4 separate regions of the Homo sapiens genome follow, and regions 2, 3 and 4 are each linked to region 1. The links are contacts of gene promoters, found by promoter capture Hi-C in blood cells and fetal thymus (Javierre and others, 2016). All regions are on one chromosome and are shown on one strand. Each heading gives the region's core, a stretch centred on a gene start or on the middle of the fragment in contact. The rest is flanking DNA. Distances are from core to core; before and after follow the strand shown. Region 1 holds the start of ZNF846 (zinc finger protein 846). Region 2 overlaps ZNF559 (zinc finger protein 559). Region 3 overlaps ZNF559-ZNF177 (ZNF559-ZNF177 readthrough). Region 4 overlaps LOC105372269 (a long non-coding RNA gene).

Evidence for each region. The method cuts DNA at HindIII sites, captures the fragments that hold promoters and counts their contacts. A CHiCAGO score of 5 or more calls a contact.
Region 2: a fragment that was not itself captured here is called in contact with the fragment with the promoter of ZNF846 in region 1 in 1 of 17 cell types (naive CD8 T cells); the score reaches 5.0 in naive CD8 T cells.
Region 3: a contact is called between a fragment that was not itself captured here and the fragment with the promoter of ZNF846 in region 1, in 1 of 17 cell types (naive B cells). The highest score is 5.6, in naive B cells.
Region 4: a contact is called between a fragment that was not itself captured here and the fragment with the promoter of ZNF846 in region 1, in 1 of 17 cell types (naive B cells). The highest score is 5.5, in naive B cells.

What each region holds. Positions count from the first base shown.
Region 1 is chr19:9,764,552-9,772,543 of GRCh38, reverse strand. It overlaps ZNF846 (zinc finger protein 846), which reads left to right and starts at 3,806. Exons shown (of 6, transcript NM_001077624.3): 1 at 3,806-4,255; 2 at 7,509-7,608. The coding sequence starts at 7,594. RefSeq lists enhancers at 3,522-3,741, 3,013-3,878 and a silencer at 3,822-3,991. The HindIII fragment of the contact is 9,482 bases long and covers 1-7,975 here.
Region 2 is chr19:9,339,944-9,347,935 of GRCh38, reverse strand. It overlaps ZNF559 (zinc finger protein 559), which reads right to left. Exons shown (of 7, transcript NM_032497.3): 6 at 6,752-6,834; 7 at 2,065-6,241. The coding sequence ends at 4,868. It overlaps ZNF559-ZNF177 (ZNF559-ZNF177 readthrough), which reads right to left. Exons shown (of 13, transcript NM_001384659.1): 6 at 6,752-6,834. It also overlaps the pseudogene UBXN2AP1. Among named protein-coding and RNA genes, the nearest start is that of ZNF177, 19 kb to the left of the region's middle. The HindIII fragment of the contact is 871 bases long and covers 4,535-5,405 here.
Region 3 is chr19:9,370,673-9,378,664 of GRCh38, reverse strand. It overlaps ZNF559-ZNF177 (ZNF559-ZNF177 readthrough), which reads right to left. Exons shown (of 13, transcript NM_001384659.1): 8 at 2,242-2,349; 9 at 321-406. The coding sequence starts at 353. ZNF177 (zinc finger protein 177) reads right to left here. Exons shown (of 8, transcript NM_001172651.2): 3 at 2,242-2,349; 4 at 321-406. The coding sequence starts at 353. Among named protein-coding and RNA genes, the nearest start is that of ZNF177, 12 kb to the right of the region's middle. The HindIII fragment of the contact is 1,660 bases long and covers 2,069-3,728 here.
Region 4 is chr19:9,442,958-9,450,949 of GRCh38, reverse strand. The region is part of intron 1 of LOC105372269 (a long non-coding RNA gene); the gene reads right to left. It also overlaps a transcript of ZNF560 not described here. Among named protein-coding and RNA genes, the nearest start is that of ZNF266, 11 kb to the right of the region's middle. The HindIII fragment of the contact is 171 bases long and covers 2,838-3,008 here.

The DNA of each region.
Region 1 (7,992 bases), core at 2,557-5,056:
ACTGCAACCTCTGCCTCCTGGGTTCAAGCGATTCTCCTGCCTCAGCCTCCTAAGTAGCTGTGATTACAGGTGCGTGCCACCACACCTGGCTGATTTTTGTATTTTTAGTAGAGACAGGGTTTCATCATGTTTGCCAGGCCAGTATCAAACTCCTGACCTCAGGTGACCCACTCACCTCGGCCTCCCAAAGTGCTGGGATTACAGGTGTGAGCCTCCATGCCCAGCCTCTACCACATTTTATATCAATGTTATACTTTCTTCATAAAAGGAATTAGGAAGTATTTCTTCATTTTCATTGTTCTTAAGTTATGGAGCACTGGGAATATTTGAACTTGGAAGGTTTGGTATAATTCTCCATTTAAAACATCTAAGCTCACATTTACAGTCTAATGATGGTTGACAAAGGTGTCAAAACAATTCAATGGGGAAAAATAGTATTTTAAATGAATGGGACATAGTCTTAAAAATGTCTGAAACAGGCTGGGCATGGTGGCTCACACCTGTATTCCCAGCAGTTTGGGAGGCTGAGGTGGGTGGATCACGAGGTCAAGAGACCGAGACCATCCTGACCAACACGGTGAAACCTCGTCTCTACTAAAAATACAAAAATTAGCTGGGCATGGTGGTGTGCACCTGTAGTCTCAGCTACTTGGGAGGCTGAGGCAGGAGAATCATTTGAACCCAGGAGGCGGAGGTTGCAGTGAGCCAAGATAGGCCACTGCACTCCAGCCTGGCAGCAGAGTGGAGACTCCATCTCAAAAAAGAAAAAAAAAAAGGACACTTGCACACACATGTTTACAGCCCACAATTTGCAACTGTAAAAATATGGAACCAGTCTCAATGCCCATCAACTAATAAGGGGATAACAAAAATGTGGTATATATACACCACAGAATACCACTCAGCTATAAAAAGCAAGAAAGTCATAGCATTCTGAGCAACCTGGATAGAGACTATTATTCTAAGTGAAGTAACTCAGGAATGGAAAACCATATATATGTTCTCACTTATAAGTGGGAACTAAGCTATGAGGATGCAAAGGCATAAGAATGATATAATGAACTTTGGGTGGGCGCAGTGGCTCACGCCTGTTATCCCAGCACTTTGGGAGGCCGAAGTGGGTGGATCACTTGAGGCCAGCAGTTCAAGACCAGCCTGGCCAACGTGGGAAAACCCCATCTCTACTAAAAATACAAAAATTAGCCAAGCATGGTGGCGCATGTCTGTAATCTCACTTACTCAGGAGGCTGAGGCAAGAGAACTGCTTGAACCTGGGAGGCGGAGGTTGCCAAGATCATGTCACTACACTCCAGCCTGGGCAACAGAATGAGACTCCATCTCAAAAAGAAAAAACAAAACAAAACAAAAAAGGATAGAAAGAAAGAATGCACTTTGGGGACTCTGGGGGAAGGGTGGGAGAAGGGTGAGGGATAAAAGTGGATAAAAAACTACACATTGGGTACATTGTACACTGCTCGGATGATGGGTGCACCAAAATCCCAGAAATCACCACTAAAGAACTTATCCATGTAACCCAAAACCACCTGTTTCCCAAAGGCTATTGAAATAAAAAATAAATAAATAAATAAACCTTTTTCCATTTTGGTTTACATTTATATTCTTTTTCTAGGTTTTATTTTTTGAGCTGGGGATTTATTTTTTATTTTTTATTTTTTTGAGACAGTTGTGCTCAGTTGCCCAGGCTGAAGTGCCGTGGCGCCATCTCAGCTCACTGCAACCTCCGCCTCCCAGGTTCAAGTGATTCTCCTGCCTCAGCCTCCCGAGAAGCTGGGATTACAGGTGCGCACCACCACGCCCTGCTGGTTTTTGTATTTTTTAGTAGAGACCGTGTTTCACCATGTTGGCCAGGCTGGTCTTAAACTCCTGTCCTCAGGTGATCCGCCTGCCTCGGCCTCCCAAAATGCTGGGATTACAGGTGTGAGCCACTGCACCCAGCTATTCTTATTTTTATTGACAAAAGTGTTTAGGAATATGAATGTTCCTTTGACCACTGCTTAAAATGCGTCTTGTATTATCCAAAAAAGCCAAAAAAAAAAAAAAAAGAGAAAACCCAATATCCAACAACTGATGTTATGATACAGCCATACAATGGAATCTTATTTAGTAAAAAAAAATTAAGTACTGATACATGCTAATTGGATGAACCTTGAAAACATTGAATGAAACAAGCCAAACACCACGTGTTTTATATTCTAATTCTACAGGCAATATCTACAGTAGGCAATCTATACAGACAGAAAGATTAGCTGTTGCTTTGGACTCTGGGGGTGGGGGTGGGGCTGGATGAGCAGATTGGGTGATCATGGCTAGGGTACTGGGTTTATTTTTGTGGTCATGAAAATGTTCTAAAATTGATTGTGATGATCGATGCACAAATATATGAATATACAAAAAGCCACGAAACTGTACACTTTAAACAGGTTAATTGTATGCTATGATAATTGTATCACAACAAAACTAAAGGCCTAAAGAAGGAACTGAATGTATCAGAGGCACAGAGCATTTTATGGATTAACAGGTTAATCTTTTTTTTTTTTTTTTTGAGACGGAGTCTCACTCTGTCGCCCAGGCTGGAGTACTGTGGCATCGTATCAGCTCACTGCAACCTCAGTCTCCTAGGTTCAAGCAATTCTCCTGCCTCAGCCTCTCGAGTAGCTGGGATTACAGGCGCCCACCACCACACCCGGCTATTTTTTAAAAAATATTTTTAGTAGAGATGGGGTTTCGGCATGTTGGCCAGGCTGGTCTCGAACTCCTGAACTCACGTGTTCCACCCGCCTCGGCTTCCCAAAGTGCTGGGATTACAGGCGTGAGCCACTGCCCCCAGCCCCATCAGGTTAATCTTTCAAACAGGGTGTCGCTGGTCTCGAACTCCTGGGCTCAAGCGATTCTCCCGCAGTAGCTAGGACTACAGCGGGATTATCTTTGTAAATATGTTTATATCCCTGCAGAGGGTTGAAGAAACAAGGAGAAAATCCTGCAGAAAAGAATTTCCCTAGGGTGGTGGCTCACGCCTATAATCCCAGCACTTTGGGAGGCCAAGGTGGAAGGATCACTGGAGCCCAGGAGTTCCAGATCAGCCTGGGTAACAAAGAGAGACCCTGTCTCTACAAAAAAATAAAAATAAAATAAAAATAAATTAGCCAGGCGTGGTGGCACACACCTGTGGTCCAAGCTGCTTGGGAGGCCGAGGGGGGAGGATCCTTTAGGCTCAGGAGTTCGAGACCAGCCTAGGGAACACAGTGAGACCCAAGTGTCTAGAAAAAGATAACTTAGCTGGGCGTGATGGGCCCAACTGTGGTCCAAGCTACTCCGGAGGCCGAGGCGGGAGGATAGCTTCAGCGCAGGAATTCCAGGCTGCAATGATCTATGACCGAGCCACTGCACTCCAGCCTAGGCGACAGACCGGAGCCTTATCTCAAAAAACTAAAAAGAGAAATTAAAAAAGAAAAGAAAAGCACTCGATGAGCATCCCGCTGTCTGCAATCGAAGCCTTAGGTGACGCCTCCACGCGTGCCCCGCCCGCTGCGCCAGTCCCCGCCTCCAACCCGGCCCTTGGCGCTGGGTTTCCTGGTCCGGCGTCGTTCCCAATATCGACAGATTGATCTGGATCCTGGTCCACCTGGGATGCGAGAAAACGGGACTTTTCTGTACGCGTGTCGAAGAGGTGGCCCCAGCTCTTCTCTCAGCTTCACATCATCCTCATTCCAAAGCTCTTGGGGCTCGGCCCCTACACTTAATGCCGTGCGCAACCGGAAGCGGAAGTGCCAGCCGGCGCGCAGCTATACGTATTCCCCGCTCTCCAGCAGCTTCCTAGCTGGGTTTTCACCTCAGCCAGCGCTCATGCTCAACCTAGGCAGGGCGGGGCAGGAGGGCCTAGCGGGAGGCGGAGCGAGGGTCGGAGGGTGACGCTCCGGACTTCTGCTAGGTCTGAGACGCGCCGGCCTCCCGCTGCTGCTCCGGAGAAGCGGCGCCTCCTCCCCGCCAGGACCCCGAGGCGGGGGGTTCCCGCCTTCTCTTCTGAGCGCCTCTTCCCGCTGCGCCCGCATCAGTCTGGGCCTGGCCCAGGGTCCCCGGTGGAGACGTGTTTTTTTCTCCAACCACCGTGCCCCTCTGTTTAAAAGCAGCCAGTCAACCTTTGTGTCCTTTCTCCAGAAGGAAAAGCATCTCAGCTGTTGTGGAAAAGGGCCCCAGCGTCCTCTTGTCACCGACAGGGCGATTGCAGTGCGTTCCGGTGAGCCCTGGACGGAGGAGATGATCTGGCTGTGGGAGGGCATCGCTTATTGAAGTTTGCGAAATTGCTCAGCAGTTAAATGCTTTGTCAAGTGTGCAGGAGTTGTAGGTTTATAGAAATAAAAGCAAATATTGCCACAGTTATAAAGCAAAGTAGCAATACTCCGCTGTGTTTTTGAGATCAAAAGCAGCTGAACTTCCTAGGTCAGTACCTCCCAAAGAGCTTCAAAACGGAGGGGCTTCCAGGAAGTAGGATGCCGCCTTCATTATACCAGTATCAGAAATTACAGTTGTATTAACTGTGAAAGAGACATGTTTTGATTCAGCGTTTTTCCTCTCGTATATATACATATTTTGAGACGGAGTTTCGCTCTTATTGCCCAGGCTGGAGTGCAATGGCGTGATATAGGCTCACTGTAAACTCTGTCTCCCGGTCCAAGCGATTCTCCTGCCTCAGCATGCTGAGTAACTGGGATTACAGGCATGTGCCACCACGCCCGGCTAATTTTGCATTTTTAGTAGAGACGGGGTTTCACCATGTTGGTTGGGCTGGTCTCGAACTCCTGACCTCGTGATCCACCCTCCTCGGACTCCCAAAGTGCTGGAATTACAGGTATAAGCCACCGCGCCTGGCCTTCCCCCTCATATATTTTTATTTATTTATTTACGTTTTAAAGACAGGGTCTTGGTTTGTTGCCCAGGCTATCTGTAGATTGAATATTCTAAACCAAAGAAAATGTGAAAGGCCAGAATATTGAACACCTATTATATATCCTTGTTGTAGACTGATCATTTGTTAATATTTTGCATGTTTTCTGTTTCTTTGCATCTCTTGTGTAGATCAATGTGTATTGGCCGGGTGCGGTAACTTAAACACCTGTAATCCTGGCACTTTGGGAGGCCGAGGTGGGCGGTTCACCTGAGGTTGGGAGTTCCAGACCAGCCCGACCAACATGGAGAAACCCTGTCTCTACTAAAAATACAAAATTAGCCAGGTGTGGTGGGGCATGCCTGTAATCTTAGCTACTCGGGAGGCTGAGGCAGGAGAATCGCTTGAACCCGGGAGGCAGAGGTTGTGGTGAGCTGAGATCGTGGCAATGCACTACAGCCTGGGCAACAAGAGCAAAACACCGTCTAAATAAATAAATAAATAAATAAAACTAGGCCGGGCACAGTGGCTCACCCCTGTAATCCCAGCACTTTGGGAAGCAGAAGCAGGAGGAGCCACTGAAGCTATGAGTTTGAGACAAGCTGGGACAACATAGTGAGACCCCATCTCTACAAAAAAAAAAATAAATAAATAAAAGCATAACTAAAGTCAGTGACAATATCAAGTCTTCTTTAAGATGTGCATGCATTGCTGAAGAGAACACTTTTTTTTTTTTTTTTTTGAGACAGAGTCTTGCTCTGTTGCCAGGCTGGAGTGCAGTGGCATGATCTCGGCTCACTGCAACCTCCACCTCCCGGGTTCAAGTGCTTCTCCTGCCTTGGCCTCCCGAGTAGCTGGAACTACAGGTGCATGCCACCATGCCCAGCTAATTTTTGTATTTTTAGTAGAGATGGGGTTTCACCATGTTGGCCAGGATGGGTTTCACCATGTTGGCCAGGATGGTCTCCATCTCTTGACCTTGTGATCCACTCACCTCGGCCTCCCAAAGTGCTGGGATTACAGGCGTGAGCCACCATGCCCAGCTACATTTTAAAACAGTGACAACTAAATATGGACTTGGTGATGCAACATGCATACGTGTGCCAGGCTAAATGTAAAAGTTATTTATCACATTATTTGAAATAGCCTAAATTAGGAACAACCCAAATGTGGATCCACAGAATGGGTGAATTGTGGCATATTTCTGTGGCTTTTTTTTTTTTTTTTTGTGACAGAGTCTTGCTCTGTCACCAGGCTGGAGTGCAGTGGCGCAATCTTGGCTCACTGTAATTTCTGTCTTCCTGGTTCAAGTGATTCTCTTGCCTTAGCCTCCCGAGTAGCTGGGATTACAGGTGTGAGCCACCCATTTTTCTTTGTATTTTTAGTAGAGATGGGGTTTCACCATGTTGACCAGGCTGATCTTGAACTGCTGACCTCAAGCGATCTGCCCACCTCGGCCTCCCAAAGTGCCGGGATTACAGGCGTGAGCCACCATGCCCAGCCTCTGTGGCATATTCTTCAGCAAAGATATGAACCAAATCACAGGTGGATGAACACAACAACTTGGGTGCACCTCACCAGCATAATGCTGACTGAAAGAAGCCAGACACAAAAGTATTCTTACTGTCTGATAGTTGCTAGGCAAAGTCAACTAGAGTATTTTTTCTTTTATTCTTTGTTTTCATATATGTGTATATATATATATGTATATTTATTTGTTTATTTATTTATTTAATAAAGAGACTTGGTCTCACTATATTGCCCAGGATGGTCTCTAACTCCTGGCCTCAAGCATCCTTCTACTTCAACCTCCCAAAGGGTTAGGATTACAGGCATGAGCCACCCCCTGGACAATTAGAGTATTAAGTGTCAGAATAGTATTACAATTGGGAGGCATGCCATGGAAAAGACTATGTCTGCAATGCAGGGTATGGAAATGCTTTATTTGTTTGTTTGTTTGTTTGTTTTGAGATGGAGTCTTGCTCTGTCACCCAGGCTGGAGTGCAGTGGTGCAATCTCGGCTCACTGCAAACTCTGCCACCTGGGTTCATGCTATTCTGTTTCCTCAGCCTCCCCAGCTGCTGGGACTACAGGCACACGCCGCCATGCCCAGCTAATTTTTTTGTAGCTTTAGTAGAGACGGGGTTTCACTGTGTTAGCCAGGATGGTCTCGATCTCCTAACCTCGTGATCCACCCGCCTCGGCCTCCCAAAGTGCTGGGATTACAGGTGTCAGCCACCGTGCCTGGCCTACTTTTTTGTTTTTTAAGATGGAGTCGCACTCTGTCAGCCAGGCTGGAGTGCAGTGGCATGGTGTCGGCTCACCGCAATCTCCACCTCCCAGGTTCAAGTGATTCCCCCACCTCGGCCTCCCGAGTAGCTAGGATTACAGGCATGCACCACCACACCTGGCTGGTTTTTTTGGATTTTTAGTAGAGACAGGGTTTCACCCTGTTGGCCAGGCTGGTCTCAAACTCCTGACCTCAAGTGATTCGCCTACCTTGGCCTCCCAAAGTGCTGGGATTACAGGCATGAGCCACCATGCCTAGCCTGAAATACTTTTTCTTTGATGTATCCAACTGACATGCCATTATTCTTTTCCAAAGGTCATTTTTTCCAGGACACTTTCTGTCTTCATGACAGGAACATCGAGAAGCCAAGGCTAGTGGCTGGGTTACTGATGGATTACTGATGGATTCTTCTCAGGCAAGTGGAAAGCAGACCTAACTTCAAAATGTTATGCTTGTAGCCATCATCGGTAGCCTTACCTTGTTATCGTGTATTCAAGCATCTTAAAGAAATGATGGTCCTGCTCAGGAAATAACTCCCCAGGTGAATTTCTCTAGGAACCAAGCCATCTCAGGTTGTACAGAGATTGCAATGGAAGTGTATTGCGGGATCTGGCCAGCAGCCCACAGTGCAACGGGGCTCTCTCTTTGTTCCCAGGCAGATTGGCAGGTTGAGAAATAATAGACACACACAAGATAGTGAAGGCTGGGTCCAGGGGGGTCACCGCCTTCTGGTCCCACAGTGCCAACAATGCACTGGATATACCAGCAGTTATTATTAAGCTTAGTGAGGGCGGGGGTA
Region 2 (7,992 bases), core at 3,721-6,220, 430 kb after region 1:
ATATTCTGTGCACTTTTTCCAAAAGGCTACTCAGAGAAATATATTTATTTCAAATACTAATTATCAAGATATATTAAATAGCTGTATTATTTAGAATCTTAATATAGTATAAATTGGCAAATATGTTCACAATATTATTTGTTCAAATACCATTCCCAAACAGGGATTTATTTAAATGTTAGCTGTCTCAGAGTTATTAAATGGCTAATACATTGAAAAATTATACATGGCAGGTTTAAAAGCATCAATGTAATTATTTTACAACTTAGATGCAAAGCTGGAGAGAGCTGTTTTTACCACAGCTATGCCTATACCTCAAAGTGTCCTTAGTTATCACTCTGTAATGGCAACATATATTTGAATATTAATTTGGTAGCTGGGCGTGATGGCTCATGCCTGTAATCCCAACACTCTGGGAGGCCGAGGTGGGTGGATCACCTGAGGTCAGGAATTCAAGACCAGCCTGGCCAACATGGCGAAACCTCGTCTCTACTAAAAATACAAAAATTAGCTGGGGGTGGAGGCGGGTGCCTGTAATCCCAGCTACTCGGGAGGCTGAGGCAGGAGAATCACTTAAACCTGGGAGGTGGAAGTTGCAGTGAGCCAAGATGGCACCACTGCACTCCAGCCTGGGCAGCAAGAGCAAAACTCCATCTCAAGAAAACAAAAAACAAATATGAATCTGGCGATGATATCAAAGATCTATTTTCATTTAAGAATAAAATTGTGGCCAGGTTCAGTGGCTCACGCCTGTAATCCCAACACTTTGGGAGGCCAAGATGGGAGGATCGCTTGAAGCCAGGAGTTCAAGACTGGTCAACATAGTGAGACCCCAATCTCTATTTTAATTTAAAAAATAAAAAAATAAAATTATGTAGCTTATTATAATGTTAATATATTCTAAGTATAATGTTAATATAAATCTTCCAGAACAAATTAACAAGGGTGCAGCATACAAGATGAATATATGTAAAAAAACTGTGTTCCTCTATAGTAGTAGTGAACTAGCAGAGAAATTGAAATTTTTAAAATACCATTTGCAATAGTGTCAGAGAAAAAATGCCTAGGAAGACCCAAACACCGAAAAACACAAATACTACTGAGAAAAAAATTATAAATCCTAAATAAGTGGAGAGATATATTATGTTCATGGGTTGAAATGCTCAATATTGTGAAGACATCAATTATTCTGCAGATTCAACACAATGATAATCAAAATCTTAGTGAATTACTTTGGGGGTGTGGGGTGGTGCTGGTAGAAATTGACAACCTGATTCTAAACTTTATATGGAAATACGAAAGTCCTGTAACAGCTGTAAGTCAACAAGGTACAGCCACATCAAGACCAAATGTGGCTCACAGCCTATAACTGTATAGGTTGAATGGAATGTGAGAACTATTTTTATATTTTAAAAGGTCTGTAATAGAAAAAATAATATGCAACAGAAACTATATATAGCATGTAAAGCTTAAAATCTCTACAATCTGGTCTTTTATAAAAAACTTTGCCAACCTCTGACCTAAAATAGTAAAGACAACTCTGAAAAGAAAAAGCTGGAAGACTAAACTCTATCGGACTTCAAAAGTTATGAAGTTGTCAAGAGAGGGTAGTCTTGGAATAAAAGATAAGTAGCTATATGGAACAGAACAGTTGAGAAGCAGACACACGTATAAAGACAACCAATATTTCAAGAAAGAAGCAAAGGCAATTAAGTGGAGAAAGGATAGTCTTTTCAATAAATGATGCTAGAACAATGAGATACAAAGAAAAAAAAAACCCCAAATTTTGATCCAATCTTTGTGCCATATAAAGATTTTAACTCAAAGTGCACCATGTACTTGTACCACAAGTACAACATATTAAATATATTGTAATACAGATACTCCTCAACTTATGACAGGGCTATGTCCTGACAAACCTATTGTAAGTTGAAACTATCATAAGTTGACAATTTGTAACCCCATCATAAATTGAGAAACATATTGAATGCATAATATGTTTGCACCATTGTAAATTAAAAACAATACTAAGTCAAACTCCATAAATTGGGAAGTGTATTTATGTTACCTCTGTTAAAATGAAATGTTTTATTATATATTTAAATGTACATTATATTAAATATAAAGTATTAATATCAAATACACTAATAGGTTTAATATTAAATATATTACAAATTTTAAACTCTCAAAATTCAATAAATATTGCAAAACCACATGATCGTGCCACGCACTTCAGCCTGGGAGACAGAGTAAAACCCTGTCTCTATATAAAAAAAAATAAAAATAAATAAAAAATAAAGCCAATATAAACAGGCAAAAGATTTGAACAGACTCTTCCCCAAAGGCTTAAAGAAGGCCAGTAAGCACGTGAAACCATGTAAGACATCATTAGTCACTAGGGAAATGCAAATTAAAACCATGAGATACTACTACACACCTATTAAAATGGTCAAAATAAAAAAGACTGACCATACCAATAATTGGCAAGGATGCAGAAGAATTGCAACTCTTATATACTGCTCATGGAAATGTCAAATGGCATAACTACTTGAGAAAGGTTTAGCAGTCTCTTAAAAACTTAAACGTACACTAACATATGATCTGATCATTCCACTCTTAACTATTTAAAGAAACAGAAGCACATGTTTAAAGAATAATCTGCATATGGGTATTCAAGGCAGTTTTAATTGCAATAGCCAAAAGGTAGAAATAACACATGGATAAATAGCTTGTGGTATGCCTTGCAATGGAATACTATTCAGCAGTGAAATGGACCCTACAACATAAATGGATCTGAAAAAATTATCCTGAAAGATGCCAGACTATATGATTCCATTTATATAAAAACTGTACATAATATAAAGTCGTCTATTCTAAGAGAAAGCAAATCAGTGGATCAGGAGAGTGACAGGCAGGGAAGGGTGAGGAGAAGAAGAAATTATAAAAGGGCATGAGGAAACCATCTGGTTTGATAGGTATGTTCATTATCTTGATGGTGTGTATGTACACATATGTGTATGTGTCCAAACTTAAAGTGTATGCTAAAAACATGTGCAGTTTATTACATGGCAATTATATCTCAAACTTACTGAAAGAACCTGCCTCAATAATTCAAACCAAAGATTCTCAGCAACAGTGAAAAAAGATCATTAAATGTACACTTCACCAAAGACTCATAAGCATATGAAAGTGATGTTCAATATCATTAGTCTTTAAAGACATATAGAAAGGCAAACTTAAATAATTTATTTGGTTTTCTTTGCTGGCGTCAATTTTCTTTTTTTTTTGAGACAGGGTCTCATCCTGTTGCCCAGGCTAGAGTGTAGTGGCACGATCAGGGCTCACTGCAACCTCTGCCTCCCTGACCAGGCTCAAGCAATCCTCTTGCCCCAGCCTCCTAAATAGCTGGGACTATAGGCACAAACCAGTACACCCAGTTAATCTTATTTATTCTTTGTCAAGATGAGGTTTCACTATATTGCCCAGGCTGGTCTTGAACTCCTGGGCTCAAGTGATCCTTCTGCCTTGGCCTCCCAAATTGCTGGAATTAAGGTGTGAGCCAGCATGCCTGGCCAGTACCAATTTTCTTGTGTGCAATAAGTGAAAATTTGTACCCCTAAATGTTCCTCAATTCCCTATAACTAAGTTTTTCATTAAAAAACCCTCTGAGGATATTTTAATTTTTTTTTCTTTTTTTGAGATGGTCTTACCATATCATCCAGGCTGGAGTGCAGTGGCGTGATCTGAGCTCACTGCAGCTTCCGCCTCCCGGGTTCAAGCAATTCTGCCTCAACCTCTCGAGTAGCTGGGATTACAGGCACGTACCACCATGCCTGGCTAATTTTTGTATTTTTAGTAGAGATGGGGTTTCACCACGTTGGCCAGGCTGGTCTCGAACTCCTGACCTCAAATGATCCACTCGCTTCGGCCTTTCAAAGTGCTGGGATTACAGGAATGAGCCACTGCACCCAGCCTAAAATTGTTTTAAAGACTAGGGAAGTGTAGTAGTGACAAATGGGGGAAAGAGTGGAACTCCTCAATAATAAAGAGTTCCATCTGTAACCGTGAACAATTGAGATAACTCAGGATCTTCAGACCAGCTAGATATTTTTATTAATGATATATAACCTCTTTAAAACATGTATATTTACCAAAAGCATTCTGATATGGCATTCCTCTAGTGTGACTTTTTGCATGTAAATTAATACAGCCTTTTTGACCTTCCATACAGTCAGGTTCCTCTTCAGTGTGGATGTTTCCTAACGACCAAGTTCAAGGGCTTTCCAACATCTCTTTCACTCATGGGACTTCTCAATGTGTGCTTTGACATGTTCCCAAAGTGGAAGCTAAAAACAAAGAAGAATCTCCACACATTTTACATTCATAAGATTTTTCACACTTGTGAGATCACAGCTGAATATTAAGGTATAAGGCAGAGTGAAAGGTTTCAACACATTCCTTACAGCCAGAGGACGTGCATTTATATCCAATGTGCTCACAAGCTCAGTAAGGCCCGAGGAAAATAATGAAAGCTTTTCCACCTTCCTCACATTCATAGCATTTCTCTCCAGCATGAGTTCAAACAGACTCAGTAAGATGTAAGCATCGACAGGTTTCCTACGTTCAGTTTGTTTCCTAGGATGCACAGACACATGAATAGTAAGGCCTATGGAAGGAGCCAAGATTTTCCCACATTCCTTACATTCATATGTCTTCTCTTCTATTGGAATTGTTAAGATCTGAGACACCAAGGAAGGCTTCCCACATTCCTTATGACTGTGTACATTGCCACTATGAATGAGTACATGTTCAGTAAGTGTGAGGAAGTAGTGGCTTTACCACATTCTTTCCAAGTATCAGCCCCAATTCACACACATTCAGTAAGGCATGAGGAATTACTAAAGGTTTGCCCACATTCCTTATATGGTTTCTCCACACTATGACTTCTTAGATGTCGAATAAGATATGTGGACCGAGTAAAGGCTTTCCCACATTCCTGACATTCAAAGGGCCGTTCACCAGTGTGAGTTCTCATGTGTACTGTAAGGCCTGATGAGATACTGAAGGCTTGCCCACACTTTTGACATTTATATGGCCTCTCCCCTGTATGTATTCTTTTATGTTGACTAAGGTGCGAGGAGTATCTAAAGGCTTTCCCACATTCCTCACATTCAAAAGGCCTTTCTGCACTGTGACTTCTCAAATGTCGAATAAGAAATGAGGATCGAATGAAGGCTTTCCCACACTGTTGACAGTCATAGGGTTTTACACCAGGATGAGTCTGCATGTGACTTTTAAAGGAAGAGGAATTAATAAAGGCTTTTCCACATTCCTTACATTGATAAGGCTTCTCACCAGTGTGAGTTCTCATATGTACAGTAAGATGTGAAGAGTTAGCAAAAGCTTTCCCACATTCCTTACATTCATAAGGCTTTTCTCCAGTGTGAGTTCGCCTGTGTTTTATAAGACCTGATGAATCAGTGAAGGCTTTCCCACATTTGTTGCACTCATACGGTTTTTCTCCAGTGTGAACCCTTATGTGAATGTTGAGTTTTGAGAAACAAGTAAATTCTTTGCCACATTCATTACAAACATAGTGTTTTCCTCTAGTTCTAAGTCTTATATGTTTAGCAAGATCTGGGGAAAAAGCAAAGGCTTTGCCAAATTTCTTATGTTCTATAGGTAACACTCTACTATGAGTTCTTAAATGTTGAGTAAGATATGACGACTCAGTGAAGGGTTTCCCACATGCTTTACATTCATAGAATTTTTCTCCATCTTGAGTTTGCATGTGTACAAAAAGGGCTGTAGAATGAGAAAAGGTTTCGACATACTCCTTATGAGTATATGGTCTCTCTCCACCATAAATTCTTACACATTCTCTGAGGTGTGAGGAGGAAGGTAAGCCTTTTTCACAGTCACTGCATTTATATGGTTTCTCTTGAGTGTGAGTTTTCTTGCAAACAAGATGTAGATTTTGGCTAGTTTTCTTGCAAACAAGATGTAGATGTTGGCTGAAGGCTGTTTCACATTGATTACAGTTAGGAAGTTCCTCTCCGATATCAGTTTTCTTGTGTAAAGTAAAGATAGAGGGTTTTCTGAAGGCTTTTTCACATTGATTACACTCACAGGTTTTCTTTCTAAAGTAAGTTCTCCTGTGAGTCTTAAGGCATGAGTGTTCACTCAAGGCTTTTTCACATTGGTTAAAGTCAAACAGTTCCTCTCCAAAATGGTTTCTCTCCTGTTGGTGAAAATTAATGATGGTTCATAGAAGTTTTCCAAATTTATTTCATTGAGATTCTCCCTTTTACTCTGAATTCTGTTACACATGGAAAATAAGTTAGTATAATTGAAACTGTTTGTTCCTGCCATTTTCATTGCAAGGCATGGTTCAGACCTGAGTGTTTTCAAGTGGAACAAAGTGACTGCAGGAAGTTCTGTTATATTCTTTACTTTCAGAGGGCTTCTAAATAGAGCTTAGCTGATAACGGCCCAAGAGTGAATTATTTATCAAAAACATCTGAGATACATATGGGAATGTTGAAGGAAATATGTAAACAAATATATTCTGAGGGATGTTTAGAGTGTTTGTCAAACTCATGATCCATAGTCTCTCCAAGAGACAGATTATTTTTGGGTGAAAAACACTAGTCTCAAATGTCTCAAGGTTATTGTGCTGCTTTTCCATTTTAAGGAATTTCCAATCTTCCTCTAACATGGAAGACAATAAATTATACCTTCTGAATCTTACCATTTCCACCACACTGGATGTTTTCCCCTGCAAAAAATTCTGCTGAGGTGCTGACCATTTGGTATTAATATGACTCTCCCAATCTGAAATAAGATGAAAAAAATTTTAAGTTCTTAGAGAAATAATGATTTTAAAAAGGGTGTTAAAAATGCAAGACTAGTATGTACTGTAGTTTCAAACACTGGCTTGAAATATAGTTTGTTTTTTTAAAGAACGGGAAACATAAATTGAGAAATTTGGATGTAGTAAGAGTCTAGCAACAGTAAGGTACTGAGGTCAAGTTGGTAGGTGATTCACTAAGAAACGGTTCTCTAGGCTGGGTGTGGTGGCTCACACCTGTAATCCCAGCACTTTGGGAGGCCAAGACAGGTGGATCACAAGGTCAGGAGATTGAGTCCTGGCCAATATGGTGAAACCCCATCTTTACTAAAATACAAAAAAAAAAAAAAAATTAGCCAGGCAAGGTGGCATGCACCTGTAGTCCCAGCTACTCAGGAGGCTGAGGCAGGGGAATCACTTGAACCCGGAAGGCAGAGGTTGCAGTGAGCTGAGATCGCGCCACTGCATTTCAGCCTGGCGATAGAGCAAGACTCTTTTTTTTTTTTTTTTTTTTTTTTAGAGACAGAGAGAGAAAAAAAAGAAATGGTTCTCTAAACATTGAGACTTTATAGTGAACAAAAAAGAGGTACAGCCAGGGAAACAAAGTTGAAAGGAAATGGATACAGAGCTAAATGCAAATCATAAATTTAAAGGAGAAGTGAGACAGATCTTAATGTCAGAGCAAAAGAAAGTTTCCAAGATGGATAAAGTGAAAGAGAAGTTAAGGTACCCAAGGAACCTTGGAAACCAATTGGCCTTGATATTCTCCCCAAAAAAGTACACTTTCAAAACCTTCCTACTTAATATTTATAAACAGACTGCACCTCTCATAGATCAGGGCTGTTTCTCACAAATAATCACATCTGTCTTTTCTCTCATCTTGGAGAATTTTCTGCGCTGTCTTTAACTCTTCTTGTTTCACCTGAAAAGTCAAACTATGTTTGCATAGCTAGTACCCTGGTCTCAGGGAAAGATGAATGATGTTAGAATGTGCAAGGGATGGCTGGGCACAGTGGCTCATGCCGTAATCCGAGCACTTTGGGAGGCCGAGGTGGGCGGATCACAAGGTCAAGAGATCGAGACCATCCTGGCTAACACAGTGAAACCCTGTTCCTACTAAAAATACAAAAAAAAAAAAAAAA
Region 3 (7,992 bases), core at 1,649-4,148, 390 kb after region 1:
GTATAGACAGGGCATACTGTAGGAATGCAAGAAATACTTGAGAAATGATAAATAATTTTCCTAGTAAAAGTCTTTCTTTACAGCACTCACTACAGTATGGAATTCATACTCAAAAATATGGAAGAATATCTGGAGAAAGTTAACAAATGTGGGAACAGAAGCCTTTCCCAGGGATTCCCTCTTCCACATGAAGCAGCCTGGGAGCTGCGGAAGATGAAGCCAGCTCAGATTGGGCTGTGAAGCTTCAGGTCAGGGGCAAGAGATGTGTTCTTTTCAGGAATGGCAGTGTGCTTTTGGAAATAGAGAAATTTCTTGTGTACCTGTGACCAGGTTGTCAGCCACCCTGCAGCCATTCTTCCTCCTGTAGGTTTCCTTCCTGGCTGGGCAGAGTCCTAAGCAGGCAGAGCTAGAGGAGAACACAGAAGCCATTAGAGTCTAGGCCTGCTAGATGTTCAACACTAGCAGGCTGGGAAGCTTCTTCTTACTAAAGGGTAACAACATACACATAGAGTGTAGTTACAATTTGCCTCCTTATCCAAGAACACAGTATATCCTCAAATTAGAAATATAGTATGCATTTTTCATTTTTTCTTGGACTTTTTTCTAGCCTGAACCACTAAAAAGGCTTATGACTGCTAACAGCTCAGGAGGAATGAGCCTCTAAAGTGCAAAACTGTCTCTGAATATCATTTACCCGTGACAGAAACCAGGACTCACTGGAGAAATAGCTGAGTCTAGTATAGACTAAGAAATCTTCAAGATGAGTTTGGAATATCTTATATCACACCCTCACGTTCCTCATTGTTAGAATGGGACCAATTTCATAGGGTTGGGCTGAGTTAATATCCCGAAATTACTTAGAACAATAAGGAGTAACTCATAAGGACCATAAAGGTGAGCATATTTGCATTTCATAATAAAAGGGTGACATTCCAGAACAACATTTAGTACACTTAGCTGTATATGTATCAAAATCTAGTGCTGCAAATCTTATAGCAGAGCTAGGACTCTGTCTTCTTAACTCAGTAGCCTACCTTCCAGGCCCTTTTTGCCTGCCCGATTTTACTTTTTAAACTTTTTTGTTGTAAACGAAGACACATACGCATTAATCTAGGCCTAAATAGGGTTAGGATCTTGAGTATCACTGTCTGACACCTTCTACCGTGTCCCACTTAAGGTATTCAGGGGCAATAACATGCACGGAGCTGACATCTCCTATGGTGACAATGACTTCTAGAATGTCTTCTGAAGCATCTGCTTGAGGCTTGTTTTTGAGTTAACTTTTCTTTTTTAGTAAGTAGAAGGAATACATTCTAAAATAACAATAAATAGTATAAAAATATATAAACCAGTAATGTGGTCACTTATTACTATTCATTATTATGTACTGTATATAATCTACTGTACATAACCATATTTACTACTGTTACATGACTGGCAGTGCAGCAGGTTTAAATGACAGACATGTGAGTAATGTGCTTTACAATGTTACACTGGCTATGTCATTAGGTGATTGGAATTTTTTAGCACTATTAAAATGTTATGAGAGCACTGTCACATATGTGGACCATCACTGACCAAAATGTCTTTACACAGTGCATGACTGTACTGCCAACCAAGAATGTTTTACCTGCCAAAAATGGCCTTCAGAAATGAAGGAGAGATAAAAACTTCCTTGGACAAACAAAAGATGAGGGGCTTCATCAGTAATGGAGCTGATTTATAGGAAATAGTAAATTCTTCAGCTTAAAAGAAAGGACACTTAGTAACATGAAACCATATGAAATTATAAAACCCACTGGGGTAAAGGTAATTATATACTCAATCCAGATTACCCTAATACTGTAACAGTGGTATCTAAATAACTTATCTCTAGTGTAAAAGATTAAAAGATAAAAATATTAAAAAGTTATAATAATTTGTTAATATACAATATAGAAAGATGTAAATTGTGACATCAAAAACATAAAATGTGGGAAATGGAAGAGTATAAATTGTTTGTATGCAATCAAAGCTAAGCTGTTAACAGCTTAAAACAGACTATTAAAACTACAGGATGTTTTAAGCTTCATAGTAGCCACAAAGCAAGAACCTATATTATGGAGAAAAGAGAAAGAAATCAAAGCGTATCACTACAGAAAGTCATCAAATCACAAAGGAAGACAAGGGAGGAAGAAAGCAACAAAACATCTGTACAACAGCCACAGAAGAATGAACAAAAAGGCAACAGTAAGTACTTACCCATCAATAATTACTTTAAATATAAATGTACTCAGGAGGCTGAGGCAGGAGGATCACTTGAGAGCAGGAGTTTGAGACCAGCCTAGGCAACACAGCAAGACCGCATCTCTACAGAAAACAATTTAAAAAAATTATTTGGGTGTGGTGGCATCTGCCAGTAGTCCCAGCTACTTGGTGGGCTAGGGTGGGAGGATTGCTTGAATCTGAGAGTAGTGGGAGTATGATCATGCCACTGCACTCCAGCCTGGGTGACAGAGACCCTATCTCCTTAAACAAAAAAGTAAATGGATTAAGTTCTCTAGTCAAAACACATAGTGGCTGACTGGATTAAAAAAGAAAGACCTAAGGTATATGCTGCCTACAAGAAGCTCACTATAGCTTTAAGAATGCATGTAGCCCGAAAGTAAAAAGATGGGAAAAGACATTCCACGTAAATGGAAACCAAAGAGAGCAAGGGTGAGTAGGAAAGATCTTATACCAGCTTAATGTTACACCTCAAGTTACTAGAAAAAGCAGCAGCTAAGCCCAAAGTCAGTAGAAGGAAAAAGAAACTAAGCCCAAAGTCAGTACAAGGAAGGAAATAATAATAAAGATCGCAGCAGAAATAAATGAGAGACTAGGAAGACAATAGAAAAGATCGATGAAACTGAATGTTGGTTGTATGAAAAGATAAACCAACAAAAACCTTTAGCCAGACTACTTAAGATTAAAATAGACAAGACTGAAGTAAAACTAGAAATGAAAGAGAAGGCATTACAACTGATAACCACAGAAATATAAAGGATCATGAGACCATAATGAAAAATTATATGCCAAAAAATTGGATAACCTAGAAGAAATGAATAAATTCCTAGAAATATATAACCTGCTAAGACTGAATCATAAATAGAAAACCTGACAAGATCAATAATGAGTAAGGAGATTAAATCAGTGAGGAAAAATCTTCCATCAAAGAAAAGCCCAGGACTTGGTGGCTTCACCGTTGAATTCTACCAAACATTTAAAGAATCCTTCTCAAACTCTTCCAAAAAAATGGAAAAGGAGCCCAACCAAACTCCTCATTAAACTCATTTTATGAGGTCAGCATTACACTGATACCAAAGCCAGACAAACACTGTAAGAGCAAAAAACTACAAGCCAATATCCCTACTGAAAATAGATGCAAAACTCCTCAATAAAATACTAGCAAACCAAATTCAACAGTACCTTAAAAGGACCATACACCATGATCAAGTGAGATTTATCCCAGAAATTCAAGGATAGTTCAAGATACGCAAAATCAATGTGATACATCACATCAACAGAATGAAGGATAAAAACTATATCATCATTAGAATAGATGAAGAAAAAGCACTTGGTAAAATTCAGCATTCTTCTGTGATAAAAACCCTCAACGAATTAGTTACAGAAGGAAAGTACTTCAACACCAGTAAAGGCCATAGGTGACAAAACCACAGCTTACAGCCAATTATAAAAAATTGAAAGCTTTTCCTCTAAGATTGGGAACAAGGCAAAGATGCCCATCCTCACCACTTCTATTCAACATACAACTGAAGTTCTAGCCAGAACAATTACGCAAGAAAACAAAAGGCGTCTACGTTGGAAAAGAAGTAAAATTATGTTTGTAGATGACATGATATTGTATCTAGAAAACCCTAAAGACACCATGAAAAAATGTTAAAACTAACATGTAAATTCAGTAATGCAGGGTAAAAAAAAATCAACATACAAAAATTAAATGTATTTCTAACAAACTATCTAAAAAAAACTATGAAAATAATTTCACTTATAATAATATCAAAAAGAGTAAAATACTGACAATAAATTTAACCAAGGAGATGATCTCAACACTGAAAATTCTAAAACACTGGTGAAAGTAGAAGACACAAACAAATGGGAAGCCACCCAGTGTTCATGGATTGGAAGAATCAATATTGTCAAATGTCACACTATGAAAGGTGATCTACAAATTAATGCAATTCCTATGAAATTCCAATGATATTTTTTACAGAAATAGAAAAAACAATCCTAAAATTCATATGGAAACACAAAAACTCCAAATAGCTAAAGCAATCTTGAACAATACTGGAGGCATCACACTTCCTTATTTCAAATATATTACAAAGGTACTGTAATGAAAATAGTATGGTACTGGCATAAAAACGGAGACAAATGTAACAGAATAGGAAGCCCAGAAATAAACCCTGGCATGTATGGTCAACTAATCTTGGACAAAGATGCCAAGAATAAGCAATGGGGAGAGGACAGTCTCTTCGGCAAATGGTGTAAGGAAAACTAGATATCCACATGTGAAAAAGTGAAATTAGATCCTTAAACTACAAACAAAAATCAACTCAAAATGGATTAAAGACTTAAATGTAAGACCTGAGATCATAAAACTTCTAGAACAGGGGAAAAGCTCTTTGATATTAATTTTGACAAATTTTTTTTTTAAAGAGTTGACACCAAAAGCACAGGCAAGAAAGGCAAAAATAAGTGAAACTACATCAAACTAAAAAGTTTCTGCACAGCAAAGGAAATAATGAACAAAATGAAAAAGCAACCTTATGGAATGGGAGAAAGAATCTGCACAATATTTAAAATATTTACGAAATACATACAGTTCGATAGAAAAAAATGGAATAAAAAATGGGTAAAGGATCTAAATAGACAGTTTTCCAAAGAAGAAATAAAAATGGCCAGTAGGTATATGAAAAAGTGCCCAACATCACATTATTAGGGACGTACCAATCAAAACCATAGTTGGCTGCTACCTCACACTTGTTATAATAGATATTATCAAAAAGTCAAAGGATAACAAGTGTTGGATGTGGAGAAAGGGAACCCTTATACATCGTTGTTAGAAGTGAAAATTGGTACAGCCATTATGGAAAGCAGTAGTGGAGGTGCCTCAAAATATTAAAAATAGAACTACCATATGATCTAGCAATCCTGCTACTGGGTATATAACCAAAGGAAGTGAAATCAATATCTTAAAGAGGTATCTGTGACCTCATATTCATTGCAGCATTATTTATAATAGCTGCTATATGGAAACAACGTGTTTGTCGATTGCTGAATGCGTAAAGAAAATGTCATATATATACACACAGTGGGTTATTCAGTCTTAAAAAAGAAGGAAACCTGGAGAACATCATGCTAAGTAAAATAAGGCGGACATAGACAAATACCGCATGACCTCACTTACATGGAATCTAGAAAAGTCAAACTCCTAGAAGCATTAGAAAGGTGATTACCAAGGGGCAAGGGAAATGGGGAGATGTTGGTCAATGGGTATGTATTTGCTGTTATAAGATGGCTGAGTTTTGGAGACCTGATGTATGGCTTGGTGACTATAGTTAATGATGTACTGTATATTTGAAATTTTCCAAGAGAGTGCATCTTACAAAAGTAAGTGAGGGGATGGATATGTTAATTAGCTTGACTGTGATGATCATTTCAGAATGGACAGGTAGATCAAAACATTATGTTGTACACCTTAAACATATATAATTTTTATTATTTGTCAATTATACCTCAAGAAAGCTGGAAAACCATGCTTCAGAAAAACAAAACTGGCAGGGTGTGGTGGCTCACGCCTGTCATCTCAGCACTTTGGGAGGCCAAGGTGGGTGGATTGCTTGAGGTCAGGAGGTTCAAGACCAGCCTGAACAACATGGTGAAACCCTTTCTCTATTAAAAATACAAAAATTAGCCAGGTGTGGTGGCAGGTGCCTGTAATCCCAGCTACTCGGGAGGGGAGGCAGGAGAATTGCTTGAACCTGGGAGGCAGAAGTTGCAGTGAGCTGAGGTCATGCCACTGCACCTCAGCCTGGGAGACAGAGCAAGACTCCATCTCAAAAAAAAAAAAAAAAAAAAAAAAGGAAAAGAAAGCTCAATGATGAAAGGAAGCAAGGGAGAGAACAGATGTAATAAGAATGGCAAAATGGTGACAATCATTGAAGCTGGGTGGTAGGTACATAGTGGCTTTATAGCACTCTATTCCTAGGTATGACTGAAAATCCACAGTGAACAGTTTTTTAAAAAGAAAGTAAAATTTCCATATGAAAGCGTGAAGCAAGGAACTGTACCCATCAGGTATAATAAAAAGCAAATCTCTCTTGAGGATCTGTATACACAAGTGCTCTCTTTTAGATTTCAGTCCAAATTCATTTCTGTAGTTCAAACAACCTCAAGGGAATAATTTCACTTAAAGAGGGTCCTAAGTGGCATTGTCCCCAAGCAACTAGTGCAAGCAAATCGACCTATCTCTGGAAAATCAACTTTAAGTCAGGTCTTGAGAAAAAATCTTATATACAAAGTTCTAAGTAAATTGAGGAAGGCACAGTTTAAGAAATTGTGAAACACAAATACACAATGTACCATGTGTAAGACATAGCTAACACACAGGTGTCAGGTGGTAAAAAGCATAACACTTTGGATATTACCCTTTTAGATATATTTTAAAATATATAAAAGCTTAATAAAAATTTGAATGGATATAGATTAAGATACTATAAAATGGTTAGTTTAAAAAACAATTTTTAGAAATGAAAAATAAACTCACTGAAATGAGAAATTCAGTGCCAGTATTAACTACCAGATCAGAACTTTGATCGCACTATTAGATGAAAACCTAGCAATTTTCTTGAATTAGTGAAAGACACTAACCTTTGGGTACTAGAAGTATCATAAGCCCCCAAGCTGAATACATAAAAAGAAATCCACATCTAATTTCATTATAGATTTTTCTTCCTTGGTATTTGATTTTTTCCCATAATTTCCAAAGCAGCCAGGGGAAAAACACAGGTCACCTATAAAAGGAAAAACAGACTGATAGCTGACATCTCAACAGCAACAATGGACGTCAGAAGAAAGCAGGACAATGTCTTCAGTATGCTGAGAAAAAAATAACTTATCAACCTAAAACGCTAGACAAACTATCTAACTACTCTTTATAAGAAATACAAAGATAACCAGGTTAAGCAATGAAAACAAACCAGTCAGCAAAATCCATATATGATGTGGGACATTTTAAGAACAAATAACTTTATTTCTTCAATAAATCAGTGGATTAAAAAAATGAAAAGGGAGGAGGAAGAGAACAGACACAATAGAAACTTAAGGGGTCTAAAATAAAAAAAAAATGTTGGGACCCTGTTAAGATTCTCATTTGAACAAACCAAATGTAAAAAGATATTCTGTAGCCAATCAGGGAACGTCAGACTTTGTTAGGTGGGATAATGGAGTAGTGGTGATGAACCAACTAGAGATGCACAGTTAGTAATATACTGATGAAATGACAGGATGTCTGGAATTTGCTTTAAAAACAAATCTGGGGGGAAAACCCAGCATTATTCAATATTTATTTGCAGTATCTAATACAGTAACCACTAATCATGTACGGATAGCTACTGAATACTTGAAATGAGCATTTAAACTTCAATAGCCACATGAGGCTAGTGGCTACTGTATTGGACAGCTCAGCGCTAGATGATGCAAGATGTGCAAAATATTGGTAACTGTCAAAGCTGGGTGTTAAGGACATGAGAATTCATTATACAGTCAGCCCTCTGTATCTGTTGGCTACTCGACCACAGATCAAAAATATGTGGAAAAAAGATGAATGCTTGTGTCTGTACTGAACATGTAGACCTTCCCCCTTGTCATTATTCCTTAAACAATACAGCATAACTATTTATGGCCCGGCACAGTGGCTCACACCAGTAATCCCAGCACTTTGGAAAGCTG
Region 4 (7,992 bases), core at 1,674-4,173, 320 kb after region 1:
CAGAAACTTTAACCTCCTTGGTTAGATGTATTCCTAGGTATTTTATTTTGTGGTTATTGTAAATGAGATTGCATCTTGATTTGGCTCTCAGCTTGAACACTATTGGTGTACAGAAATGGTGATTTGGTGTGGTGGCTCATGCCTGTAATCCCAGCACTTTGGGAGGCTGAGGCAGACTGGTCACTTGGAGGCAGGGGTTCAAGACCAGCCTGGGCAACATGGTGAAACCCTGTCTCTACTAAAAATATAAAAATTATCTGGATATGGTGCTGCATGCCTGTAATCCCAGATACTCGGGAGGCTGATGTGCAGAGGTTGCAGTGAGCCGAGATCGTGCCACTGCACTCCAGCCTGGGCAACAGCGAGACTGTATCTTTAAAAATAAATAAACAAACAAATAAATGCTGATTTTTATACATTGATTTTGTATCCAGAACTGAATTGAGTTTTCTAAATTCTGAAGTTGTTTATCAGCTCCAGGGGCCTTTTGTCAGAGTCTTATAGAGTTTTCTATGTACAGACTCATATCATCAGTGAAGACAAATAGTCCTATTTGCGTGCCTTTTATTTCTTTGATTGTTCTGGCTGGGACTCCTAGTACTATGTTGAATAGCAGTGGTTAGAGTGCGCATCCTTTTCTTTTTTCAGTTTTTTTTTTTGAGACAAAGTCTTGCCCTATCACCCAGGCTGGAGTGCAATAGCGCGATCTCGGCTCACTGCAACCTCCGCCTCCCGGGTTCAAATGATTCTCCTGCCTCAGCCTTCCGAGTAGTTGAGATTACAGGCGCCTGCCACTGCGTCCAGCTAATTTTTGTATTTTTAATAGAGACAGGGTTTCGCCATCTTGGCCAGGCTAGTCTTGAACTCCTGACCTCATGATCCAGCTGCCTCAGTGTCCCAAAGTGCTGGGATTACGGGCACAAGCCATCGTGCCTGGCCTTTTTTCAGTTGTTTTTTTTTTTTTTTTTTTTTTTTGAGACAGAGTTTTGCTCTTGTTGTCCAAGCTGGAGTGCAGTGCAATGGCGCAATCTTGGCTCACTGCAACCTCCGCCTCCTGGGTTCAAGTGATTCTCCTGCCTCAGCCTCCCAAGTAACTGGGATTACAGGCACAGACTGGCACACCTGGCTAATTTTTGGACTTTGAGCAGAAACGAGGTTTCACCATGTTAGCCAGGATGGTCTCGAACTCCTCACCTCAGGTGATCCACCCACCTTGACTTTCCAAAGTGCTGGGATTACAGGCATGAGCCACTGTGCCCAGCCTTTTCAGTTCTTAAGTGGGGTGCTTCCAGCTTTTGCCCATTTAGTATGATGTTGGCTGCAGCTATGTCATAGATGGCTCTATTATTTTGAGGTATGTTCCTTTTTTGTTTTTTTCACTTCATATGGTGCTGACTTTCTAAGTTTTTGCTGTAGGTGTTTTAGCACTCTAAACATTTCTCTTAACCCTGCTTTAGCTGCATCCCAGAGATTTTGGTATCTTGTTTTTTTGCCTTCATTAATTTCAAAGAATTTTTAAATTTCCACCTTAATTTAGCTGTTTACCCAAAAGTCATTCAGAAGCAAGTTGTTCAATTTCCATGTAATTGTGTGATTTTGACAGATCTTGGTATTGATCTTTATTTTTATTTCTATTTCACTGTGGTCTGAGAGTATGGTTGGTATGATTTTCAAATTTTGAATGAATTTATTGAGACTTGCTTTATGGCTGAGAATGTGGTCTTTGAGTGTTCTGTGTGCAGACGAGAAGAATATGTATTTTGTGGTTGATGGGTAGAATGTTCTGTGGATATCTATTAAGTCCAATTGGTGAAGTTTCAAATTGAAGTCCAGAATTTGTTAGTTTTCTGCCTCAGTGATCTAACACTGCCAGTGGGGTGTTGAAGTCTGCCACTATTCTTGTTTGGCTGTCTGTTTGTAGGTCTAGAAGTACTTGTTTTATGAATGCGAATGCTCCAATGTTGAAGGTTAAGTCATCTTGTTGGATTGAACCCTTTATCATTATATAGTGCTCTTTGTCCTTTTTTCCTGTTGTTGGTTTAAAGTCTATTTTATCCAACAAAAGAATAATGATCCGTGCTCTTTTTTGTTTTGCATTTGCATGATAGCTCTTTCTCCCACTTTTTGAGTCCATGGGTGTCTCATATGTGTGAGATAGGTCTCAGAAGGATAGTACTTGTCGTTTTTATCCAGATTGCCACTCTGTCCCTTTTAAATGGGGTGGTAAGACCATTTACATTCAAGGCTAATATTGATATGTGAGGATCTGATCCTATTATGAAGCTGTTAGGTGGTTGTTTTATAGTTTCTATTTTGTTTTTGCTTCAAAAGGTCTGTGGGCTGCGTACTTAGGTTTGGTTGTTTTGTGGTAGCAGGTATCATTCTTTCGTCTTCATGTTTAGAACTCCGTTAAGGGGCCAAGTGAGGTGGCTCATGCTTGTAATCTCAGCACTTTGGGAGGCTGAGGAGGGTGGACACCTCAGGTCAGGAGTTCAAGACCAGCCTGACCAACATGGAGAAACCCTGTCTCCACTAAAAAAAAAAAAAAAAAAAAGCCAGGCATGGTGGTGCATGCCTGTAATCCCAGCTACTCCGGAGGCTGAGGCAGGAGAATCACTTGAACCCAGGAGGCAGAGGTTACCATGAGCCAAGATCGTGTCATTGCACTCCAGCCTGGGCAACAAGAGTGAAATGTCTGAAAAACAAACAAACAAACCCCCCGCCACACGCACACACAAAAACTCCATTAAGGATTTATTGTAAGGCTGGTCTACTGGTAATGAAATCCCTTAGTGATTGCTTGTCTCTAGAAATGTTTATTCTACTCTTATGAAGCTTAGTTTGGTCAGGTTTGAAATTCTTGGTTTGAGTTTCCTCTTCAAGAATGATGAAAATAGGCCCCCAGTCTTTTCTGGCTTGTAGGGTTTCTCCTGAGGAGTCTGCTATTAGCCTGATGACGAGATTCCCTTTGTACCTGATGTGCCATTTCCTCTAGCTGCCTTTAAGCTTTTTTCTCTAGCGTTGACCTTAGGCTGGTGACTGTATGTCTTCGTGGTGTTCATTTTATGTAGTATCTGGCAGGTGTTGTCTGGATTTCTTACATATGGATGGCTACCTCTCTAGCACAATTAGGGAAATTTTCTTAAATTATTCTCTCAAGTATGGTTTCCAGGTTGCTTACTTTTTCTCTTTCTCTCCCTGGAATGCCAGTTATTTGTAAATTTGATCACTTTACATCATCCCATATTTCTTGGGGACTTTGTTCCTTACATTTTTTTCTTTGTGTTTGTCTGACTGGGTTAGTTGAAAGACCAGTCTTCAAGCTCTGAAATTCTTCTGCTTGGTGTAGTCTGTTGATGAAGCTTTCAATTTTATTTTAAAATTCCTTAAGTGAGGTTTTCAGTTCCTGTAGCTTTGATTAATTACTTCTTAAGATGTTTATTTCTTATTTTGTTGATTGCTTTATGTTTGTGTTGATTTTCAATCTTGTCTTGGATCTAGCTGAGCTTCCCTGTAGGCCAAGCTTTGAATTCTCCACCTGTCATCTCTGTGCCTCCATTTTGGAAAGGGACCATTGCTGTAGAGTGAGAGTGACCCTTTGGTGGTGTCACAACATTCAGCTTTTTCATGGTGGCAGAATTCTTACAGTTTCCTTCTCATCTGGAGAGGGTTGGGGCTAAAATATAGAAGAATGTGCTTCTAATCTGTGTCAGATTGTTGGTAGAATTAATTTTGTTATGGCTGTAGAATTCCTTACAGCTTATTTTGTCAATGCCAGCAACAGAGAGTATGTCTATTTTTTTTTTTTTTTTTTTTGTGACGGAGTCTCGCTCTGTTGCCCTGGCTGGAATGCAGTGGCGTGATCTTGGCCCACTGCAACCTCCGCCTCCCAGGTTCAAGCGATTCTCCTGCCTCAGCCTCTCGAGTAGCTGGGACTATAGGCACGCGCCACCATGCCCAGCTAATTTTTGTATTTTTATCTAGAGATGGGGTTTCACCATATTGGCCAGGCTGGTCTCGAACTCCTGACCTTGTGATCTGCCCACCTCGGCCTCCCAAAGTGCAAGTGTGAGCCATGGCATCCAGCTGTCTGCTATTTTTTAGTCACTGATATCCAAATCCCCTTTGAAGGGACTCATCTAATTTTGTCAGGTGAATATCTCTAGATATCTCTATACTATAAGTAAATCAAGTTCTCCTAGGAATATTCTAGGAGATTATTCGCTTTGTGTAATGTGTAATCGACTGAATAGGGACTTGAATTGTATCTGGAAAATTCCTTCATTGTTGCCACATAATGTAATACAGTTGACTGACATTGCATCACTTTTGCTATATTTTCTTGATTAGGAGGAAACTGTTTATCCTACCAACACTCAACAGGAGGGGATTATACCAAGGCATACCAGAGTGCAGGACTCATAAGCACCATCTCAGAATTCTGCCTACTATACAGGTAAACCCCCTAACGTGGATGAATCTCACAAACATGATGTTGTGAAAGAAACCAGAAGTAACAAGAGAATGCATCCTATATTTTATGTGTGTGTGTGTGTGTGTGTGTGTGTGTGTGTGTGTGTGTGTATGACTTGGCAAAATTGGTTCTGGTTTAGGGAAAGGTGGAGTAAATGCAGTTATCCTGTCTGTCCCACTGAATGTCCCACCTGGACAGAATGCATCAGCTATTTGAAGAATCTGAAAAGTAAATAGCAGCAGGGAGATGGAAAAAAAAATCAGCGTTCAAAGTACCACCAAGCAGGCAGTAAGTTTACTAGTTTTACCCCTTCTGGTTTCATCTGGTCTGTACTCAGTGTGGCTGAAAAACCAGAGGCACACATCATGACCAACATGGAGAGTTCCAGAAGAAGCCCTCTGGTTCTGGTAATATCAACAAGGGGGTGGGAGGGGTGGTTTCTAATGCTCAGTGAGAAAGAGAGGGAGATTAATACCTCAGTTTGTTTTCTCCATTTACTTGGTTCCAGCCTCCAAGCAATCCTGTGGTGGCAATGAGACATACCATAGACTTTGAGAGCTGGAATGTGAGATAGATGACCTTCTGTGTAGTCTAGCCTCCAGGTAGAGACACAAAGCATACAACAAAATCTTTGAAAATAAAGCTCTCATTGAAACCACAACTCAGAGCGTTGACTAAAACTTGCAAGCTGAACCCAACTGGGTAATTGTCCAGATTAAAAAAAAAAATCAGCTGAGTGCAGTGGCTCATGCCTTTAATCCCTGCACTTTGGGAGGCCGAGGCGAGTGGACCACGAGGTCAAGAGATCGAGACCATCCTGGCCAACATGGTCAAACCCCGTCTCTACTAAAAATACAAAAATCAGCTGGGCGTGGCAGTACATGCCTGTAATCCCAGCTACTAAGGAGGCTGAGGCAGGAGAATCGGTTGAATCGGGAGGCGGAGGTTGCAGTGAGCCACGATCACACCACTGCACTCCAGCCTGGCGACAGAGCTAGACTCCATCCAAAAAAAAAAAAAAAAAATCTACGTTCTCCATAGGACTTAAAGGCCCAGAGTGTTATAATATTCAAAGTGCCCTGAATATAAACCCAAACTATTCAGCATACTAGCAGCAGAGCCTCACAGGGCTGTGTAACAGTACAAAAGGCTAACATTCATGATATTAGAGTCCTAAAAGAAGAAGAAGATGTGTGATGCAGTAAGTTTTTGAAAAGGTAATGATGAAAAACTTCTCAAATTTGATGAAAGACACAAATATTCAGATTCAAGAAATTTAATGAACCCAAAACATAACCCCAAAGAAATATAAGCCAAAACATATAATAATTAAAGTTGTGAAAGCTAAAGATAAGTAGAACATCTTGAAATTAGCCTGGGAAGTAATAACATGTTACTTATAAGAGAACATTTCGTGGCTCATGCCTATAAATCCCAACAATACTTTGGGAGGGTAAGGCAGGCAGATCACTTGAGCCCAGGAGTTCGAGACCCGTCTAGGCAACATGGAAAAATCCCACCCCTACAAAAAAATTAGCTGGGTGTGGTTGCATGTGCCTGTAGTACTTTGAGACCCTGTCTCAAAGTAAATAAATAAAAGAACAGTTCAGTTGACTGTGGATTTCTTTTTCCTTCCCTCCCTTCTTTCCCCTCCTTTCCTTTCCTCCTTTCCCTCTCTCTTCTCTTCTTTCTTTTTTCCTTCCTTCCTTTCTCCCTTCCTTCTCCTTCCTTTTTTTTTTTCTTTTCTCTTTCCTTTCTTCCCTTCCTTCTTCTCTTTCTTTTTCTTTCCTCGTTCTTTTCTCTTTGTTTCTTTCTTTCTTCTCCCCCCCTTCTCTCTTTCTTTCTTTCTGAGATGGAGTCTCACACTCCAGGCTGCAGTGCAATAGCACAATCTCGGTTCACTGCAACCTCCACCTCCCGGATTCAAGCGATTCTCCTGCCTCAGCCCCCCGAGTAGCTGGGATTCAGGTGCCTGCCACCGCACCCATATAATTTTTTGTATTTTTAGTAAAGACAGGGTTTCACTATGTTCGCCAGGCTGGTCTCGAACTCCTGGCCTCATAATCAATCCGCCTTGGCCTGGGATTATAGGCATGAGCCACCACTCCTGGCCGACTGTGGATTTCTTATAGAAACTATAAAGGCCTGGGCATGGTTACTCATGCCCTGTAATGCCAGCACTTTGGGAGGCCAAGGTGGATCACTTGAGCCCTGGAGTTCAAGGCTGCAGTGAGCTATGATTACATCACTGTCATCCAGCCTGGGTGACAGCAAGACCCTGTCTCAAAACAACAAGCAAAAAAACCCACCAATGGCTCACATCTGTAATCCCAGCACTTTTGGAGGCTGAGGTGGGCAGATCACTTGAAGTCAGGAATTCAAGACCAGCCTGGCCAATATGGCAAAACCCTGTCTCTACTAAAAATACAAAAATGAGCTGGGCGTGGTGGCACACATCTATAATACTAGCTACTGGGGAGGCTGGGCACAAGAATCACTTGAACCTGGGAGGTGGAGGTTACAGTGAGCCGAGATCACGCCACTGCACTCCAGCCTGGGTGACAGAGTGAGCCTCTGTCTCAAAAAACAAAAAACAAAAAAACAAAAAAACACACCACCATAAAGGCAAAGAGCAAATTAAATGACATTTTTTAAGGGCTGAGAGAAAAGGAACACCTTAAAGTTTCTTTGGATGGCTATGTGAAATACTTTCTTAGACTTCTGCCCTCTTAGTTTGTTTGTTACCTGCGTGCAGCCAGCTGCTCAAGCTCCCAGGTCACACCATCTGCACGCACAGGAACTGTGTGTGTGTGCGCGTTTCTCTGTGTGTGTGCATGGTGATTCTGCGCGTTTCTCTGTGTGTGTGCATGGTGATTCAAAATGTGGAATGGCTTCCATGTATTCATGTAGTGGAACTGTGCGTAGGCCTGGATTCACATGCCTCTTTCATATCCTTGTGGTCTCCTTAAGGGACTTTTTTTTTTTTTTTTTTTTTTTTGAGACGGAGTCTTGTTCTGTCTCCCAGGCTGGAGTTCAGTGGCGCAATCTCGGCTCACTGCAAGCTCTGCCTCCCGGGTTCACACCATTCTCCTGCCTCAGCCTTCCGAGTAGCTGGGACTACAGGCACCCACCAACACGCCCGACTAAGTTTTTTTTTGTATTTTTAGTAGAGATGGGGTTTCACCGTCTTAGCCAGGATGGTCTCGATCTCCTGACCTTGTGATCTGCCTGCCTCAGCCTCCCAAAGTGCTGGGATTACAGGCATGAGCCACTGCGCCTGGCCTCCTTAAGGGACTTATATCTCCTTTTTTTTTTTTTTTTTGAGAGTCTCGCCCTGTTGCCCAGGCTGGAGTGCAGTGGCACAGTCTCAGCTCACTGCAGCCTCCACCTCCTGGGTTCACGCGATTCTCCTGCCTCAGCTTCCCAAGTAGCTGGGATTACAGGCGTGTGCCACCACACCCGGCTAATTTTTTGTATTTTTAGTAGAGACGGGGTTTCACCGTGTTAGCCAGGATGGT